2 separate regions of the Homo sapiens genome follow, and region 1 is linked to region 2. The links are contacts of gene promoters, found by promoter capture Hi-C in blood cells and fetal thymus (Javierre and others, 2016). All regions are on one chromosome and are shown on one strand. Each heading gives the region's core, a stretch centred on a gene start or on the middle of the fragment in contact. The rest is flanking DNA. Distances are from core to core; before and after follow the strand shown. Region 1 overlaps SLC25A53 (solute carrier family 25 member 53). Region 2 holds the start of TCEAL1 (transcription elongation factor A like 1).

Region 1 (4,749 bases), core at 2,184-4,683, 490 kb after region 2:
ACCCCTTAACACAACTGACCTGTCTCCTAGGTCATAGAGCCAACCCCTGCACCCATGAGTTAATAATGTTCCAATGTTTTCTTCTTGAACATATCATGAGACATCAGATGGGGAACGGGGGGGGGACAAAAATTGAAAATGGGTATTCCAGAGGCTCCATTCCTGTTTGTATTGGGAAGGGACAACTACTCCTGCCCGATCTCTTGACCTCAGATTAGAGGGTGATAAAAGATGACATGTGACCTCTATCCCTGAGGGTCCCAAGTTTCTGGTAGGTACAGTAGTCCCTATCTTCACGAAGAGGTCAAAACTGGCAAGGAGCAGGGGGGAATGATTTCATTTAAGGCAAGGAGTGGAGTGAAATGAATGCAGACCTGAGGACCTGAGGGAGTTTGCCTGGGAGGAAAGAGGGGGTCCCTGGGCTGACAAGACAGGGTGTGCAGCAGCCAGAGCTGGCACCTCAGGGAAAGGAGCACAGAGCTATGTAGGTGGAGGACAGGAGGACAGGGGAGAGGGGGAGGGGTATGATGGCCAAGCTGGTGGGCTCCCATCTACAGTGACAGGGACAGGAGGCCTGGCAGAAACTGCAGACCCACAGGTTTCACACAGAACCCTGGGCTATGTTGTAGGGGGAGTGGAGGTTAGGACTCTAATTAGGCTAGCAGGCTGATGGGGACAAAAGGGTCTAGGCTGAGGCCCCCAGGGAGGAGTAGAAGCCACACACTGCAAGGAGCCCAATGCAGCCTTCCCGGGGCTGCCAGGCCCAGAATCCACCTTGGAGTGCTCTCCTTCCAGAATCACCTCCAACTCTGCTCTTCCCTGGGCCCTTTCCCTTGCTTCATCCACATCCCCATAATCCCATTCCTATCCCCACTGCTCCATCCATATCCCCACAATCTCATTCCTATCACCCCTGCTCCATCCATATACCTACAATTACATTCCTATCCCCTCTGCTCAATCTATATCCTCACAGTCTCATTCATACCCCCCTGCTCCATCCATATCCCCACAATCCCATTCAGTTCCCCCCTGCTCCATGCACATCCCCACAATCTCATTCAGATCCTTCCTGCTCCATCTGTATCCTCAGTCTCATTCCTATCCGCCCTGCTCCATCCATATCCCCACAATCTCATTCAGATCCCCACTGCCCCATCCATATCCCCACAATCTCATTCATATCCCCCCTGCTCCATCCATATCCCCACAATCTCATTCAGATCCCCCCTGCTTCATCCATATCCCCGCAATCTCATTCCTATCCCCCTTGCTCCATCCATTTTATCACAGTCTCACTTTACCACCACTCCCCTTCCCTGGAGCCACACTCACCTCTTGGTGGAGGGAGATGGAGGCTCAGCTTCATGTGCTCTGCCCATCACCACCTCCCCCTCCTCCGCATTCCATGATGGCCTTAAGCCTCAGCCTCCTTAATGCTCATGGCCAGTAGACTGGGAGGGCCCCTCTGCCTCTGACCTTTTAGCTGAGAACTGAGCAGGAGTAAAGGTCCAAGAGACCCACTTTTTGCATCCCTCTGGGGCACCTCTGGCTCCTGGCAGCCACCTCCATCTCACCACAGGCAAAGAGGACCCCACCACCCACGCAGGAGGCAGCTTCATCAAGCCCCCAAAGCCACAGGGTCCCCCAACACTACCTGGCTCTTACAGCCCCCTATTCCTCCCTACCTCTCCCAAAGTCTATCCTTGGAGGGGATTTGCCCACTCATCTCTCCAAGATTAGAATATAGTTCCCCTTGCTGCTCACCTTTTCTCAAATTCACTCTATAAATGCTATTGAATGATTTACCTAGATATGCTGTCATAATTTCTTTCTGAAACCAGGTAGAGTGAAAAGAGGAATAAATGCTACACCTACCCCCATCCTCCTTTTCACTGGAGTTAGCTTGGAGGTTCAAGATCATTACTTTGAAACCCTGCTGTGTAATTCATCCCCTTTCCTTCCCCCCCATCCTGTCCTCTGTTGTGTAAACCTGAAACTGTCTAAATTTTTACTTCACCAAAATGATGCAAAAGTGAGACTTTTTATTTCATTTTGTGTCACACTGGCTTTCCTTTATTCAAGAAGTATGTATTTTCCCTAATTGGAAGACAAAGAAGACTTGGAGTGATTACAGGGTTAAGTGAAAGAAGGCTTTTAAAAAATTTTGTGTTTGATACCCTTCATTTATAATTATTGTTTTTCCTTTCCTTTCTCCCTTCATTCTCATTAGTCGCCAAGAGATGAAAATTGCTCTTTTGTCTTGTCAGGAGAAACCAGCCTTTGAATGACCTCCTTTTGCAATATCTCCCTCCTTCTTGATACTATTTTCCCTTGTTTCCATGACATCCATCTCATGGTTTCCCTCTCCCAGATCTTTTTGATGCCTACTTCTCAGTGTCTTTTGCCGAATATTCTTTCCCTTCCTGATCCTTCCACAATAGCAATAAAAATTAAAATCACTGCAAGTGCGATTTATTCCAAGCTTATTACATGCCAGGCACCCAGTGCCAAGCCTTTAAAATGCATTATTAGCTTTTCATAGCAACTCCCTTAAGATAAGCATGACTTTCTATTTCTAACTTGCTATTAATTTAATTACTATTAATTGACACATATTTCAGATGATGAAACAGGCTGGGAAGTTAGGAAACGTACTTAGGGTCATGTAATTATTTAGTGGTACAGTCAAGGATAAGACACTGGACTGACTGATCCCAAAGTCTGTGTTCCTTACTTGAGTTAGCCATCATGTGCACAGCACCCCATGAGGTAGGTGTTACTATTATATAAAGATGATACATGAGGAAAGCAAGGTCAACAGACATAATTAGCCAAATATCATAGCAGCAAGTGGCTTGTGCGCCATACACAAGGATGCAGCCTTTAAGGAATACTTGTGTGACACAGGCCACCTTTCTTTCACATCCTCTTGTTGCAGCTATCCTTCCTGCTGCCTGGCAACCATCCCCTCCCCCTTCAGAGTTGCATTATCACATTCAGTTCAGGTATCAAGTTTCCAGTCTATGCTTTTGGTGCAAATGGTTTTGAATTTGATGTATGCAAGAGGAGACAGCTGCAACAATGAGTGGAGGAGAGATAAATTGTTCAATTCATGGTGCTGGGGGGAACTTCATTACCTGATTGGAAAAAAGGTCAGTTTCCTTTCTCCCATGACACTAAATATGAATCCCAGATACATTTGAGCAGTAAATGTAGATTTTATGCAATTATGTATTAATTCTTCTTTAATCGTATATTTTGTTATAAAATGAATAAAAAGAATCAAATGTTCAAAAGCAACCCCTTTTAAAGCTGCAACACAATACATGTTAAACCTCTGGGTTGGAGAGAACTTTCTATGGTTAAGAGTAATGAAAGAAAGTATAAAAGAAAAGACTGATAACTCAGAAGACAGCATTAACAGAAATAAAATACCAACAGTAAGCTGAGAAACATTGGCAACAAATATCATGGAAAGGGGGCAGGGCTGGCAACAAATAAGAGAAGCAATAATAACAGCAAATCTGTATTGTGTTTAGATAGTTAACATTTATTAAGGTCTTACAAAGTGCCAGGCATATTCTACAAGCTCTACATGGCTTTATACTTCATTTCATTCTTACAACAAGCCCTGAGATAGATCTTATCTTAAAATTTCCACATTCTAAAACACTCTTTAAGCGGGGGGCGGGGGGAGCAGAGGAAAGTGCATAAAATATAAATTTACAGCTTAACAAATTATTATAAAGCAAATCACCATAAAGATCAAGAAACAGAACAGATCAGAACTCCAGAAATTCCCATAAGTCCTTGCCCAATCACAACCTCTTTCCTCTCTCCAAAACAAAACAAAACACTCTCATGACAGTTTTAGCTGTTGCTTTCTTACTTTCCTTTATAGCTTTACCACTCAAATATAGATGCCCAAACACTACTGTTTCTGGAGCTTTATGTAAATAGAACTATAATGCATATATCCTTCTATATCCAGCTCATTGCCCTTACAATTATGCTTCTGAGATTCAACCTGGTTGCATGCGGCATCGGTTCATCATTCTCAGTATTGTGTTACAGCTTTCCATTCTACGACTTTACAAGAAATTATCCTTTTACTGTCGGTGGACATTTGGACTGTTTCCAGTTGGGGACAATTATGAAAAATGTTGCTAAGAACATGTTTTTAATGTCTCCTGGTACATATGTGCACACACAAGGTATATATGTAGGAGAGGAATTGCTGGCTCATAGATTGTGTATATTTTCAACTTCACTAGATACCACCAAACTGTATATCAAAGTTGTACCAATTCCCACTTCCACCATCAATGTTTGAGAGTTCCTGTTGCTCCACATCCTCACAAACACTTGACATTGTCAACAAAGCTTCATAACTTTTGCTTGAGGTTTTGTACGTCTATTATTACATTTAGTTCAAGGTAATTGTGTATACTACTATAAATTAAATATTGGTTTAAATTTCATTTTCTAAGGGCTTGTTGATGGTATATAGAAATATAACTGGTCTTTTGATGTTGATATTGTACACTGACTTTGCTAATCTCTTAATAATTTTAATCTGTAGCTTCCTTAGAATTTTCTGCATACACAAGCATGTCATCTGTGAATGATGGTAGTTTTATTTCTTCTTTCCCAATCCATATACATTTCTTTTTCTTACCTTACTGCATCGACTGGGACCTAGAGTACAACTAGTGAGAAGAGACATTCTTGTCCTATTCCTGAACT
Region 2 (4,688 bases), core at 93-2,592:
TTCAGAAACTTACTAAACAGCCTGGCTTTAAAACAAAATCCCAGGATCCTCACAGATCAGATGGTCATCTACCCTGAAAGTGTAAAACACAGAGGGAAGGGAAGTAGTATGCTCTGTAGGGGAAAGAGCATCTGCATAAGAAAGTAGCATCCAGGCTGATGTGAGTAGATGAGAGGCAGGCATAAGGTTAAAGATCATAAAATACTGTTAGATAAAAAAAAATACATATTGCAATGACAATTGAAAATGCTAGCATAATTGTAGTCCTGCTATTCAGTATGTGGTCAACAGAATTATTGCATAGTTTAATATGGAATGCCCTCCCTGCTGCATCTATCTTTTGGGGTCCAGCAGTCCCAGAACTCAAATATTTGTTGATTTAGTGAATTAATATAAACTTCCTCAACCAGAAGCACCAAGAGGTGGCTGGTTAAGGATTGAGAGTCCCAGTAAAATCTATTTATTCTATTATGAATAACTACTGAATAATTTATATATATGTACACATGTATATAAATATATTTTATAATCTATTCAGTGTGTATACATGCATATATATGCGTGTATATATATACACGCATATATATGTGTGTATATATATACACACATAGAGAGAATAATGCCAAGCTCTCCACCAAGGACTATCCCATTTCAGATAATAAGTGTTCTGGACTGTTTGTACTTAGATGGACAAATACGTATTTGATTTATGAAAATCAAAGTATTCATTCTTTTTAGATCTACAAACTTTACAAACTCAACTCTTTCTACAGGTCTCGAACTGAATGATTACCAATTTAGATCTGGGGGCTCAAAAAAACAAAATGTGATGTCAAGAAAAAGTGAAAGATTGTCTCCCATGAAAGTGACAAGAGATGAAACATGCTGAATGAGCCTAAATGGACATGATGGAGATACGGATGTGGATTAAAACTGAGAGTGTTGGGATATAAGGATATAATACTGATTTATGAAGGTGAACAGTCAAACGTCAGTGCAGGATCTGAACTGCAGGGGAAATAAGGGGCCTTGGTGGCTAAGGAAGGGAGGAGGGGAGAAAGAGGTGGTACTAGGGGAAGTAGCACAGAGGAAGAGGCAATACTACCCGAGACTAGATGCGGACCGTCTCTGGCAACCAGGAAAAGGCAAATACAAAGAGAGGTGAGTGACAATGCCTGGTGTGTCTCGGGTCAGAGAACACTAGCAGGCACTAGCAGGTGGCTGCGGCAGGGCCGCAGATCAAAGTGGTAACTGGGGATCTGAGTTCGGCAGTGACGCGCGTCCCTCACGTGACCAGGAGCCTCTATGTGCCCAAGTCCCTCTCGTCCCGGTCTTTTTTTTGCCTGTCCACCATCTCCCTATTACCCTTTGGTCGAGAGGGAAAGCAGAAGAAGTAAGTTCCCTCTACCCTCTTAAATCGGTGTGAGTGTCGGCGCTGCCTAGTAACCCGGGGAATGGGGTTGACAGAATCGGGATGGCGGAGTCCAGGCCTTTCCCTAAGCTCCAGCCCCGCCCCCCGCGCCCACATTTCTGTGCAAAATATGGTGGTCTTTGGGGCGGGGTGGGGAGGCGAGTACCTCCCCCGTCCCCCGGGAGGGGGGTACAGACATTTGGAAATAGTTTCTAAAAATGCTTCGCTTCCACTTCTCATCTGAAAAGAAATGGCAAGCTTTGCGGGGTGGGGAGGTGGGAGCACGGAGGACGAAGCTTGACGCAGGGGCTGAGACGAAAAGAGAACCCGAGAGCTAGGGGAGCGTGCAGGCAGTGGCTGGTGCCCAGAAAGTGGGGGGTGGGGGGTGTCAGTCAGTCCGTCCCTCCTCCCCACTCCCCGCCCCCTACCCTGTCTTGCGTCTGTGTGCAGGTCTGCTGGTCACAGCGGGGCACCTCGAGGAGAGGACGACTAGGAGCACACGGCCCGGAAAGGTCCAGGTCAGGGAAGGGGTACGCAGTGGGCCGGGACTGGGGCGCGAGGGTGGACGCCGAAAGGCATGGAGTCTGCAGGCCGCACTGTCCCGCCCCTGTCACTGCGGGCGAGGCCTGTAGCAAAGCCTGCTGGGAAAATGGTGGGCTTTCGGGAAGGAGGGGGCGACCGGGAAGCGGCGGAGTCGGGAGAGCCGGAGAGCCTCTGGGAAAGCGCAAGGTTGAGGACCTGGCCCCCGAATCAGGAAAAGGCAGGTATTGGAACCCACGGCCTGGGTGTTAGTCCAGCCGCTTAGTATTCTGACTCTATTCTGCCTTTCTTGTCTCCTAAGAATAACTGTGCTTGAAGAAGAAAATTCCCAACATGGACAAACCACGCAAAGAAAATGAAGAAGAGCCGCAGAGCGCGCCCAAGACCGATGAGGAGAGGCCTCCGGTGGAGCACTCTCCCGAAAAGCAGTCCCCCGAGGAGCAGTCTTCGGAGGAGCAGTCCTCGGAGGAGGAGTTCTTTCCTGAGGAGCTCTTGCCTGAGCTCCTGCCTGAGATGCTCCTCTCGGAGGAGCGCCCTCCGCAGGAGGGTCTTTCCAGGAAGGACCTGTTTGAGGGGCGCCCTCCCATGGAGCAGCCTCCTTGTGGAGTAGGAAAACATAAGCTTGAAGAAGGAAGCTTTAAAGAAAGGTTGGCTCGTTCTCGCCCGCAATTTAGAGGGGACATACATGGCAGAAATTTAAGCAATGAGGAGATGATACAGGCAGCAGATGAGCTAGAAGAGATGAAAAGAGTAAGAAACAAACTGATGATAATGCACTGGAAGGCAAAACGGAGCCGTCCTTATCCTATTTAATGTGTTCGGCCTTTAATTCTGTTTTGCCTGCTAATAGTATTGCCATTGCCACCTGGACTTTCTGTTTGCATTTTCTTAATGCCTTTTCCCATATTCTGAATTTTAACTTTTTGTGAGGCTTTATTTTAGATGTTTAGCATGTAACTCGCTTAAAGTTGAGGTTTCCCCCTAAAATCTACAAGTTTCCCTCTTTCAGTCATGAGCCCTACACATTTGCATGAAAGATGTACATTATATATTGTGAAACGAAAAAAGCAATTTTCAAATGGTATATATTGTATCCCATTTTTGTAAAAAAAATGTATATTTATATATTAATATGCAAAGAAAAAGCTAAAAGTATAGACTTCAAAGGCATAACAGTGGTTGTGTGGTAAGATAATAGGTGATTTTTTAAATTTTTGTTTTATCTGAATTTCTCATTTTTTCAGGACAAACGTTTTACTTGTGTTGCAAAAATATATAATGAAAAAATCACACAATTTTGAAGAAAACTGTCAATCAGCTTATAACGACAATGTGGCACTTAATAAATACTTGTCAGAACTTTAAAAAAAGTGAATCCTATGTTTTTTTCTGAATCTCTTAGGCACAAATATTAGCCAGATATGGATTATATTTAATAGTCATTTTGTTCTCATTTAAATAGGAATAATACTTGCTTTACAGTGCTACTGTGGGACCAGATGAGAAAAAGGTTGTGTGAGCTATGTTCGGGGTCTTTATTCCACCTGCACAGGCAGGACCCCAACCCCTATAGATTCCCTGCAGACATAGGGAAGGTACCCAAAGGAGATCTCACTTGTGCTCACAAACAATTCCGGTGAGATTCCAAGTGAGTGCCACATTCTATTCATGTCCTGCTGTACTCTCAGATACCTACCGTATCTGCTAGGCACAGCTGCTCCTTCTCCTGGGTCCTGATCCTTCCACTGGCTCTCATCCCTGCTGACGTGCTGGACTGCTTAAGGTACAAAGCCTCACTGATTGCTCTGGAGTCCCTGGTGGGCCCAAGCTGAATTGTGTCTCCTGCAGATATATGAATGCCCTTCTTCCAGCTTTAATATTGCACTTAGCTAGGAGGCTACCATCTCAATGCTGCTTAGACCTCAATGTCTTTAAAAAATGCTTAGTAAGGCCAGGCGCGGTGGCTCACGCCTGTAATCTAGCATTTTGGGAGGCCGAGGCAGGCAGATCACGAGGTCAGGAGATCGAGACCATCCTGGGGAACACGGTGAGACCCCATCCCTACTAAAAATACAAAAAAAAAATTAACCGGGTGTGGTGGCGGGCGCCTGTAGTCCCAGCCACTCGGGAGGCTGAGGCAGGAGAATGGCTTGAACCCGGGGGACAGAGCTTGCAGTGAGCCAAGATCGCGCCACTGCATTCCAGCCTGGGAGACAGCAAGACTCCGTCTCAAAAAAAAAAAAAATGCTTAGTAAAATAGTTCTTCCATTTTTTTTTTTTTTCCATTTAGGACCTTCCTTTTCTCCACTGGACTCAAACATGATTCCACCTTTTCTCCACCTGACTCAAACATGATTCCACTAGGTCCTGGGCTAGGAGACAAAATTATTGAGCCAGACACCATGCTGTGTACTCAGAATTGGAACTTCCCTCCCAAATATCCAAGGATAACTATCATTTTAATTGTCTAACTTGCCTTAAGATGAGTTCTCTCTCAGGGGCTTCTGGCAAGCTTGCCTTGCCAATTCAGCTGACTTGCTCAACTTGTATAAATTAAAGAGGAAGATAATGCTTAGGCTCAAACTAAGACATTCCCCCTTCTACACTGCTCCATATCAGCAAGACACATGCAAAACTACTTTCTACAACATTAAAGTACTATATATGTATATGTACATAAACATATATATTAGATATGATTTCTCTACTAAGCTACCTTTATAAATCCTAAGATTTT

The links. The method cuts DNA at HindIII sites, captures the fragments that hold promoters and counts their contacts. A CHiCAGO score of 5 or more calls a contact.
Region 1: a fragment that was not itself captured here is called in contact with the fragment with the promoter of TCEAL1 in region 2 in 1 of 17 cell types (total B cells); the score reaches 5.4 in total B cells.

What each region holds. Positions count from the first base shown.
Region 1 is chrX:104,116,003-104,120,751 of GRCh38, forward strand. All of the region lies in intron 1 of SLC25A53 (solute carrier family 25 member 53), which reads right to left. Among named protein-coding and RNA genes, the nearest start is that of ZCCHC18, 5.9 kb to the left of the region's middle. The HindIII fragment of the contact is 1,901 bases long and covers 2,484-4,384 here.
Region 2 is chrX:103,627,633-103,632,320 of GRCh38, forward strand. TCEAL1 (transcription elongation factor A like 1) reads left to right here and starts at 1,343. Exons shown (of 3, transcript NM_004780.3): 1 at 1,343-1,393; 2 at 1,862-1,941; 3 at 2,253-3,321. The coding sequence starts at 2,285. The coding sequence ends at 2,764. RefSeq lists enhancers at 968-1,037, 1,909-2,203, 2,108-2,157, 2,228-2,297. The HindIII fragment of the contact is 2,900 bases long and covers 1-1,667 here.